Regions from separate parts of the Homo sapiens genome. Here regions 1 and 3 are each linked to region 2. The links are contacts of gene promoters, found by promoter capture Hi-C in human tissues and cell types (Jung and others, 2019). All regions are on one chromosome and are shown on one strand. Each heading gives the region's core, a stretch centred on a gene start or on the middle of the fragment in contact. The rest is flanking DNA. Distances are from core to core; before and after follow the strand shown.

What was found. Contacts are between HindIII fragments. The study calls those that stand out against the background at their distance.
Region 1: a contact is called between the fragment with the promoter of DCTPP1 here and the fragment with the promoter of NFATC2IP in region 2, in 1 of the 25 tissues and cell types used here (pancreas).
Region 3: the fragment with the promoter of TBC1D10B here is called in contact with the fragment with the promoter of NFATC2IP in region 2 in 1 of the 25 tissues and cell types used here (dorsolateral prefrontal cortex).

Annotation. Positions count from the first base shown.
Region 1 is chr16:30,428,422-30,431,732 of GRCh38, forward strand. It overlaps DCTPP1 (dCTP pyrophosphatase 1), which reads right to left and starts at 1,609. Exons shown (of 3, transcript NM_024096.2): 1 at 1,459-1,609; 2 at 636-746. The coding sequence starts at 1,559. RefSeq lists enhancers at 1-212, 213-713, 1,467-1,546, 1,947-2,056. The HindIII fragment of the contact is 14,232 bases long and covers 1-3,311 here.
Region 2 is chr16:28,949,155-28,952,608 of GRCh38, forward strand. NFATC2IP (nuclear factor of activated T cells 2 interacting protein) reads left to right here and starts at 1,783. Exons shown (of 8, transcript NM_032815.4): 1 at 1,783-2,244; 2 at 2,978-3,050. The coding sequence starts at 1,858. RefSeq lists enhancers at 1,105-1,639, 1,659-2,159 and silencers at 1,879-1,978, 2,119-2,238. The HindIII fragment of the contact is 8,980 bases long and covers 1-3,454 here.
Region 3 is chr16:30,369,041-30,372,153 of GRCh38, forward strand. It overlaps TBC1D10B (TBC1 domain family member 10B), which reads right to left and starts at 1,454. Exons shown (of 9, transcript NM_015527.4): 1 at 188-1,454. The coding sequence starts at 1,143. It also overlaps a transcript of MYL11 not described here. RefSeq lists silencers at 880-959, 1,050-1,339. The HindIII fragment of the contact is 6,682 bases long and covers 1-3,113 here.

The DNA of each region.
Region 1 (3,311 bases), core at 359-2,858, 1.5 Mb after region 2:
GCCACAGGCAGGTCCTCTACAGAATACCTTCCTTTCAGCCCCAGAGGCAGAGGAAAAGGGTTGTTGGGCCAGGCGTGGTGGCTCACCCCTGTAATCCCAGCACTTTGGGAGGCCAAGGCGGGTGGATCACCTGAGGTCAGGAATTTGAGACTAGCCTGACCAATATGGTGAAACCCCGTCTCCACTAAAAATACAAAAATTAGCCAGGCGTGGTGGGGGGCACCTGTAGTCCCAGCTACTCGGGGGGCTGAGACAGAACTGCTTAAACCCAGGAGGCGGATGTTGCAGTGAGCCGAAATTGAGCCACTGCACTCCAGCCTGGGCGACAGAGCGAGACCCCGTCTCAAAAAAAAGCCAAAAAAACAAAAAACAAAAGAAGGGAAAAGGGTTGTTGCCACTGCTTCTTCCTAGACGGGACCTGTCCTGATGCTTTCACACCTCACACCTCTCTCTTCCAGGAGGCTGAGTGCCCCTAGAGGGCAGGGACCCGTGAGTCCTCTCTGCATCCCAACAACAGCAAAGAGCCTAGCAATCAGGAGGGGAAACTGAACCCATGAATGTTTGAAGACCAAATAAATGCTCCCCTCCCCTCCCCCACAACTCAGACTCTACCAGGAAGCTTTCCATCTACTCACAAGAGTTCTGCCAGCTCCCCCACTTCCCCAACCAAGGCCAGGAGGAGATTCCGAGGCTGATGGAACTGTTCCCAGTCTCGTTCCGCAGCAAACTCAGCATGGAGGCGGCGGCTGAAATAGGACAAAGGAGTGTAAGTCCAAGTCTCCGGGTTAGAGGGTGATGCAGGGGCCAGAGGCAGCTACCCCCGTAGTATGTAATGGGGCCTGGGACCAGGAGATTCTGCAACTAATTCATTGGATGGTATTGTGCAGGTCATTTCCTCTTTCCGGAACTTGGTTCCCTCATCTATAAAATGGGCGTGCCCCTGAACTGCCCTTAACATCTCGCCAAAACTAACAAAACCCTCTTCATTATTCCATCTCCTGCTGCTACTTCTGCAGTTTCCTCCACCTGGAATCGCCGCACATCAAAATGCAATTTCTCTTACAGAAGGTAGTTCCACAGACCCTTCCTCTAAGAAGCCTTTCTTGACCTCCTCCAGCAAAAAATAACGTCTCCCACCTCTCAGCACTTCGTTTGCCCCTCTCGTACCCCCGGCGCCTGGAGAGCAGAGGCGGTATCTGGTGCCGGTATCTTCCCAGGGCTAGGCTGAAGGGCGTTCCTAGTTACCACTCGGAGGCACCACCCAATTTCCCTTGCCTCAGGTGTGCACCGCTGCGCCCATTTTGCAGATGAGGTAAGAAGGCTCACCCAGGGACAGCCCACAGAGCCAGGACCCGAGCCCCGCTGCCAGCCCGCTTCCCGACCACGTGGAGGAACCCTCCCCAAAACGCGGGAGAAAGGGGCGACTTCCCCACCCCGAGCTGGGCCAGGCCTGCTTACATGTCCTCGAGCGTGGGCTCCGGGCTGAAGCTGAACCGGCCGGGAGCAGCAGTGTCCTCTCCCCCCGTGTCCCCACGAATCTCCCCACCGGCCACAGACATGCCGCCCACCGCTGCACCGCGACTTCACGGAAAACCCACGAGCCACGCTCGAAGCCCCGCCTCCAGAGCTCCGACCAATTACGGGAGTTCTCTATTGCCTCACGGGGCGGAGCCTGAGGAAAGAGACCAATGACTTTTGTGGAGTTTGCTACAGCCCTCCCCTTCCCTCACTGGACCAATCTGAGGGAGCTTCAAGCGCGCGTTTCTAGTCTTAGGCCCTGGAATTCTTCCGCTAGGCCCTGTGTCTAAAGGTAGAGGTACCAATTCGACCTGGGGAAGAGACGAAGGGCAGAGGGTGGGGGAAGCGCAGGCGCGTCACTTCGTTTATGGGCGCCAGAGGGCGCCAAAGCGAAACGGCAGCGGAAGAGGGCCCGTCAGGTGGAAAACCCTATAAATGAAAGGCCCTATGCATAGGTATTAAATCAGGGCTTAAGGACGTTGAGAAACCTCGAGGCCAACCCCCACACTATTTGGATGGGATTGAAGGGGAAGAGCGGAGTAAGATCAGACGGCAGTAGGACTTCAGCTCCCCGCCATCGCTGTGTCCTGTGGTTGAAACGATGGAGGTCGCCCCATCCCTGTCCTAAGGGAGGCAGTAGGCCCCAGCGCAACGTACATTGCCCTGAAACACGTGGCCCCTTATGGTCTGGCCTGTGCCGGCCTCTCCAGCCTCATGGGTCCCCAGCACGGCTCCTCCACCCCACACACGAGAACTCCAGGCTCCACTCACACCAGGGAATACGCGAGGTGGCGAGTCACAGGGTTGCTGCTTTCAAATCAGAACCACTGAGTTATTGGCCATGGGAGGAGCAGAGATCTTTATGAAACCCTAGAACAGGTGTAGTCTTGCAAAGAATGATTTATTATTGTACCCTTATTAGGGCTACTATCTCTGATTTCCACGTTTAAAGAGGCTTCCAGCTTGCTGGAAGTGAAAGCGTAAGAAAGCGCAGGAAGAGGCAGAGTCAGATTTTGGAAATTAAAATCCCAAGGCTGTGACAATTGCAATTCTAGGTATATGCCCTAGAGAAATTAATGAATATGTGCAGAGAGACACATGCAAGAAGTTCATTACAGTTTTGTTTCTAAGAGTGAAAAAAATTGAAAATAAAATGACTATCAACGGAAGAATGGCTACATGGAAGTATATTTATACAAATGATATTATCCAGCAGTTAAGATTGGATACATGCAACAGAAACAAGTTTAAACTGCTTTTAGCAAGAAAAAGAAATCTATTATTTTTATTTTTTAAATTTTTTATAGAGACAGGGTTTCACCATGTTGCCTAAGCTGGTCTTGAACCAGGATTGCTGGATTGGGCTCTAGCAATCCTCCTGCCTTGGCCTCCCGAAGTGCTGGGATTACAGGCACGAGCCACCCCCACCGGCCACAAGGAATTTATTGTAAGGATACAAGAGTGTCTCCAGAATACAGTGGGACCTCAGGAATGAACTGGAACTGGGGTGGCTGTTTTAAGCATTTTACATATTTAATCCTCATAGCAACTAATTTAATCCTCACAAAAACCCTATATGGTAGGTAATATTGTTGTCATCCCCATTTTAAAGATAAGGAAACTGAGGCCGGGCGCGGTGGCTCACGCCTGTAATGCCAGCACTTTGGGAGGCCGAGGCGGGCGGATCACGAGGTCAGGAGATCGAGACCATCCTGGCTAACACGGTGAAACCCCGTCTGTACTAAAAATACAAAAAATTAGCTGGGTGTGGTGGCGGGCACCTGTAGTCCCAG
Region 2 (3,454 bases), core at 533-3,032:
ATTAGCTGGGCAAGGTGGCAGGCAACAGTAATCCCAGCTACTCGGGAAGCTGAGGCAAGAGAATCCTTTGAACCCTGAAGGTGGAGGTTGCAATGAGCTGAGATCGCACCATTGCACTCCAGCCTGGGCAACAGAGCAAAACTCCGAATCAAGAAAAAGAAAAAAATAAAATAAATAGTCGGGCGCAGTGGCTCACGCCTGTAATCCCAGCACTTTGGGAGGCCAAGGCGGGGGCGGAGGGGGGTGGATCACCTGAGGTCAGGAGTTCAAGACCAGCCTGACCAACATGGTGAGACCCCATCTCCACTAAAAATACAAAATTAGCTGGGCATGGTAGTGCACGCCTGTAATCAATCCCAGCTACTTGGAGACTGAGGCACGAGAATTGCTTGAATCTGGGAGGCAGAGGTTGCAGTGAACCGAGATCGAGCCATTGCACTCCAGCCTGGGCAATAAGAGCGAAACTCCATCTCAAAATAAATAAATAAATAAAATTAAATAAATGAATAAAATAAAATTTAAAAATAAATAAATACATAAGATTTTTTTTTGAGATGGAGTCTCACTCTGTTGCCCAGGCTGGAGTGCAGTGGTACAATCTTGGCTCAGTGCAACCTCTGCCTCCTGGGTTCCAGCGATTCTCCTGCCTCAGCCTCCCGAGTAGCTGAGATTATAGGCGCCTGCCACTACGCCTGTCTAATTTTTGTATTTTAGTAGAGACAGGGTTTTACCATGTTGGTCAGGCTGGTCTCGAACTCCTGACCTCAGGTGATCTGCCCACCTCGGCCTCCCAAAGTGCTGGATTATAGGCGTGAGCCACCACGCCCAGCCTTATTATTTCTATCTTTCTTTCTTTTTTTGAGAGAGAGTCTCGCTCTGTCGGCCAGGCTGGAGTGCAGCGGCAGGATCTGGCTCACTGTAACCTCTGCCTCCCGGGCTCAAGCAATTCTCCTGCCTCAGCCTCCTGAGTAGCTGGGATTACAGGCGCACGCCACCACGCCCGCCTAATTTTTGTATTTTTAGTAGAGACGGGGTTTCACCGTGTTGGCCAGGCTGGTCTTGAACTTCTGACCTCGTGATTCGCCTGCCTCGGCCTCCCAAAGTGCTGGGATTACAGGCGTGAGCCACCGCGCGCGGCCAGCCTTATTATTTCTTTAAAGCATTTTTGAGACAGGGTCTCGCCCTGTCACCCAGGCTGGGGTGCAGTGGTGCGATCTCCGCCTCCCGGGCTCCAGCGAAACTCCCACCTCAGCCTCCTGAGTAGTTGGGACCACAGAGGGGTGCCACCACGCCCGGGTAATTTTTGCATTCTTAGTAGAGACGCGGTTTCGCCACATTGGCCAGGCTGGTCTCAAACTCCTGAGCTCAACCAATCTGCCCGCCTCAGCCTTTCAAAGTGCCAGGATTACGGGCGTGAGGCACCGCGCCTGGTTAAATCCGCGGTTTCCACAGGGAATTCCAGGCCCGCCTTCCTTCTCCCGGAAACCTTACCGCTCGAGGACTACATTTCCCAGGATGCCCTGCGACTAACCAAGCCGGAAGACGGTTGTCTTGGTTGGGCGGGTCCGGGAGAGGCTCGTCTGTGGAGAGGTGGCCCAGCCAATGGGTGAGGCCGACTGAATCGAAAGCTACGGTGATTGTGCCGAGGTGATTGGAATCTTTGGCGCCTTGGTTTCAGAGGTGGGCGCATGATGAGCGGGTACAGAGACCAATGAAAAGGCGGGAAGGCGGATCCCGCGCGTGGGGCGCGAAGAGTTGCTGACGAGCAGGCTGTTTGTCCAATGCAAGGCGAAAGTCGCTGAAGGGGGCGGGGCGAGGCGAGAGGAGGCGGGCGTGTGTTGTGGAGGAAAGTGTGCCATGGCGGAGCCTGTGGGGAAGCGGGGCCGCTGGTCCGGAGGTAGCGGTGCCGGCCGAGGGGGTCGGGGCGGCTGGGGCGGTCGGGGCCGGCGTCCTCGGGCCCAGCGGTCTCCATCCCGGGGCACGCTGGACGTAGTGTCTGTGGACTTGGTCACCGACAGCGATGAGGAAATTCTGGAGGTCGCCACCGCTCGCGGTGCCGCGGACGAGGTTGAGGTGGAGCCCCCGGAGCCCCCGGGGCCGGTCGCGTCCCGGGATAACAGCAACAGTGACAGCGAAGGGGAGGACAGGCGGCCCGCAGGACCCCCGCGGGAGCCGGTCAGGCGGCGGCGGCGGCTGGTGCTGGATCCGGGGGAGGCGCCGCTGGTTCCGGTGTACTCGGGGAAGGTGCGCCCGGTCCCGGGGAGGGGACCGGCGGAAGGGCCAAGGGCTTGGCCTCCAGGGAGGGGCCGGCGTTCGGGGAGGGTAGGGCTATAGGGGTGTTGAGGCTGGCGTTCTGGGGCTGGTCCTCGGGCGTTAGGGTGTTGGAGGCAGGGAGAGGCAGGGCTCCGGGACTTTCTGCAGACTGGGGTGGTGAAGGAGGGTGGGATGCGTTGGAAGTTTAGGATTCCTAGGAGCTAGAGTCTTGGGGGCACAGGGAGGCTGAAGAGCTGGGATTCCTGAGATTTTGGAGAGGGACTGGGAGGACCTGGGGCCGTTGGATTTTGAGGTTGGGGTCCATGGCAAATGAAGCCAGGGAGCTGCAGTATTGGGGGTTGGGGTCCATGCGGGTTCAGAGAGGACTGGGCGGCTCCAGAGGCTGGGGTCCCCCGATGGTCGTGTGAGCAATGGGCTGAGAGTCCCTAAGAGTCAGGGGTAGAGGGGCGGCTAGTAACCTAGTTAAAAAGGGCAAGGAAGCATACATTTCAGAGTGTCTTAGGCAGATGGAGGAAAGGGTGAAGGGTACTTCCATTCTGAATCCTGGGGAAGCTGGACTTCTAGGTTGCCAGGAGAGGGCCAAGGTGTCCACGATCTTAGGGAGGATTTGGGAGCTGGGTGTCAGGGAAGAATTACCCCCAATTTTTTCTTTCGGTAGGGGAAGGACTTGGGCCTGACCCCTCTCCCTTCTTTGTCTTTGCAGGTTAAAAGCAGCCTTCGCCTTATCCCAGATGATCTATCCCTCCTGAAACTCTACCCTCCAGGGGATGAGGAAGGTAAGGGAGGGCCTCCAGGGAGAGGCACGCAGCCGCTGGCTTCTCTTAAGAGAATTCCTGGGGTTTATATTCCTGCAGTCAGTTGTCTCCTGAGGCTCAAGGGAAGAGCGTGGGAGAGGGGACTCCTGCATCCCAGCCACAGGAGCTGGATTGTTAACAAGCATAGAATGTATTAATGTATACATTTCTGGTGCCACCTGAAGAGATGCTGATTCTGTAGTCCTGGGCGGGGCAGGAGGCGGTAAGGTGTTGAGAATCTGTGACATCTTGTTACATCTGCAGCAAGTTCTTTGGGAACACTGGAGCCAGCAGGGTGTTCTCTGAATCTTATCAGGGATGCCCTGTCTTTGTCCTCCCCCACTGATGCATTTTTTGCAAACAACTCAAGGGCGGGGAATAGGAAT
Region 3 (3,113 bases), core at 204-2,703, 1.4 Mb after region 2:
CCACTAACATGCCAATGTCACAGGCACCTCAGGATGCTCAAGACACGGCAGCTCGCGCTGATCACCCCGTGGATCCTCAGAGGAGGCTGGGCTGCCAGAGTCTGGGCAAAGTGTATCGTTTTCGTTTCGCCCTCCCCCAACCTTTGCTTCCCCGAGGCGGTCCCGCTGGGTGCCCACTGGTACTCACAGGCTGCCCGAGTACTGGCTGCCCCCAAGGAAGCCATACTTGTCCGTCTTGCGCAGGGCCAGCCCGTTTATCTCTGAATCTGAGCCCATGGAGCTCACATCATCCGCCAAGGACTCCAAGGTCCCAGACATGAGGCTCACGGAGTCCAAGTAACTCAGCGTGTCCGGGGCCTGCCCTCGAGGCCCAGAGATGCCAGGTCCCAGGCTGGACGTGGAGCCCAGGTCTTGAGAGTTTTCAGCAGGCTCCGGAGCTGGGGTCACGGTCACGACAGCTACCGGAGCCTCACAAGTCCCAGAGGGGCCTGTGCCAGGGCCTGAGGGGTCCTCAGGAGCCTGTCCTGCTGATGCTGATGTTGCTGCGGCAGCTCCATGCCCACCTGTCACTTGTCCTGATGCACTCCGTGCAGTCACTCCTGAGGCCACTGTGGTTCCCGGCTTGGGGGCAAGCGGGGGTTTGGCGGTCAGGGCACCAGGAGCCGTTCTGGAAGGGGTCCTGGTAGGGGTCCCGGTGGGGGTCCCTGGTCCTGGGGCGGGTGAGGGTCGAGCCTCCTCTGTCTTCGGCGAGTCTGCCCCTGCGGCCAGAGCCCTCGATGTCTCAACTCCAGCCACTGCCGCGGGCTCTGGGGATTCCGGGCCGGAGGGGAGCTGCGGCTTTGGGGCTTCGGGCGAGGCCTCCAGGGTCAGCACCACCACCGTGCTGCCCGTGACAGCCGGGGCTGGGGCCGGGGCTGGGGCCGGGGCCGGAGCAGAGGTCTCGGCCGACCCCGGGACCCAGGCGGGCCGCGCCTCCCCGGGGGCCACCAGGGTGACGGGGGCCGAAGTGGCCGTAGTCACTGGAGGTCCCGGAGCCACCACCACGACGGGCCCGGCCCGGGAACCCCGGGGCGGCGGCGAGGGGGCCGCGGGGGCGCCATGACGGCGCGGCGGGGCCACCAGGGGCGCCGTGCCCGTCTCCATGGCCGCGGGCCGCCCCTCACATCCCCCCGCCGGGGAGGCCGCAGAAGGCGCCGCCCCTCGGGCCTCCCGGCGAGGCCAGCCGAGAAAGGGGAGAGGGCGAAGGGCGCGGCTCGGCGCGCGCCGGGGGCGGAGCGGCCGCTGGGCGCGCAGAGGCGGGGCAGGGGTCGGGGGGCGCCGCGCGCCGGGGTCTCTCTCGAGCCCTCTCACCCCCTCGCGCGCTCTCGCCACCGCCCCCTCCCTCCTGCTTGGGGGCGAGCCGCCGACCTCGCGCCTGCGCACACGCCGCAGAGCCGGCTCCGCGCCAGCGTCTCGGCGTTCCACGCCTGCGCGCGGACTGGCTCATCGCGCTCCTTTTTTCTCCCGCCTAGTCAGAGGATTTGGACGAATAGTGGGAGAGAGAGAACTGGGCTTCTGCCAATCGTTGGAATCGTGGGCGGGGCTGGAGGCGAAAAAGGGGTGGGTCATCTGGAAAGAGGAAACGGAGAAAGCTAGGGCTGTAAGACCAATCAGAGGACGAGGAAAGGCAGGGGGCGATGGGACGAAAGAAATAACCAATAGAAACGCAGGGGTCTGAACCTCCTGGCCAATGAATATGACTGAAGGGTGAATGACCGCGGAAGGGCGGAGGAGGAGGCAGGGCTGTGCGAGTAAGAGGTGGGGCCTGGAGGCTTCTTAACCAATAGGAATGGTAAAAAGGGAGCCAATGAAAAGGGGAGCAGGTGGAGGTCAAATTGACAGGCAGTGATGTCTATTTAGGCGGTGACAGACAGCATCCGCAGTCAATAGGAAGAGCTGAAGAATTCTTTAGGTCTCCCAAAATGGTCAGTAAGGAATGACAGCTGGGAGGAGGCGGGGCAAGCTAGAGATTAATTCGCCCCGTCAGCCAATGATCGTGTTCTCCCACTTTGGCCACAGGACAGGAAAATAGATAGCTGTCTCAGCCAATGGGAGCATCCAAAGGGCAAAGATGCTGCCAGCAGGCGGTGCCAGCCCAGGGATAGTCGGTGACAACCGGAGACAAGCCTTATGGGAGGGTGACAGCTGGGGACAGCACGGAGAAGGGGCGGGGGCATTAGTGCAGCCCTCAACCAATGAGTGCCGCGCTGCCCCCTCTCGAGTCCTTTCCGGTCCCCTATTCTTCGTTCAGCTCCTGAGCCCCACACTCTGGTGGTCTGTGGGACCCTGAGCCCCACCACAGATCCAGTGCCCTGACCCAGTACTCTCATCCTTTACTCTATAATTCTCCGATCTCGGCCCCCAACTAACCCCAACACTCCAGGCCCAGGTGGCAATAGCCAGAGCCCCCAGATCCTATAAGCAACCCATATCTCTGCTTCACCCATTTCCTGCGGGAATCCCAACCTCCAAGTCCCTCTCCTCAGTTCCCATCTATCTGAGCTCCTCCCCAGAACCCAGGCTCCAGTTCCTCAGACCTTATCCCTCTGAGTACCCCCTCCATTTCTTCTAGTGGGGATCTCAAACCCCAAATCCATGAATCCCTAATACCATGAACTCCCCATATGTGTGTTACTATTCTTTTGGGGATCCAAGGCCCCAGTCCCGTCAACCCCTCTCCCCTCACTGCCACATCCCTCTGTGCTCCTCATGTTCCACTGAGAATCCCGACCTCAATCTCATGAGCGCTCCAGGTTGTCCTTAGATCACAAGCATAAAGACCTGACGTTATGAGCTCCAACCTTCCAACTTCTAAACGCCCTCTTCTTTCTCTGACCCCCATATTCTGATTTCCATATAGCATCCACCATCCTGGAATTCCAGTGAGACCTAGCTCCCGACTTCTCAGCTCCTCCTTGGTTTCTGAGTCCTCTAAGGTCCCTCACTCCCAACTCAGCCCCATGTCCTGTCAATTCCCACTCAGTGTCTGATCTCCTTCTCCTCACCTTTCCCATCTCCCGTTTGACCCAAGCTTCCTGAGCTCTCCTCCCATTCCCCTTTTTGGAGTCCTCCTC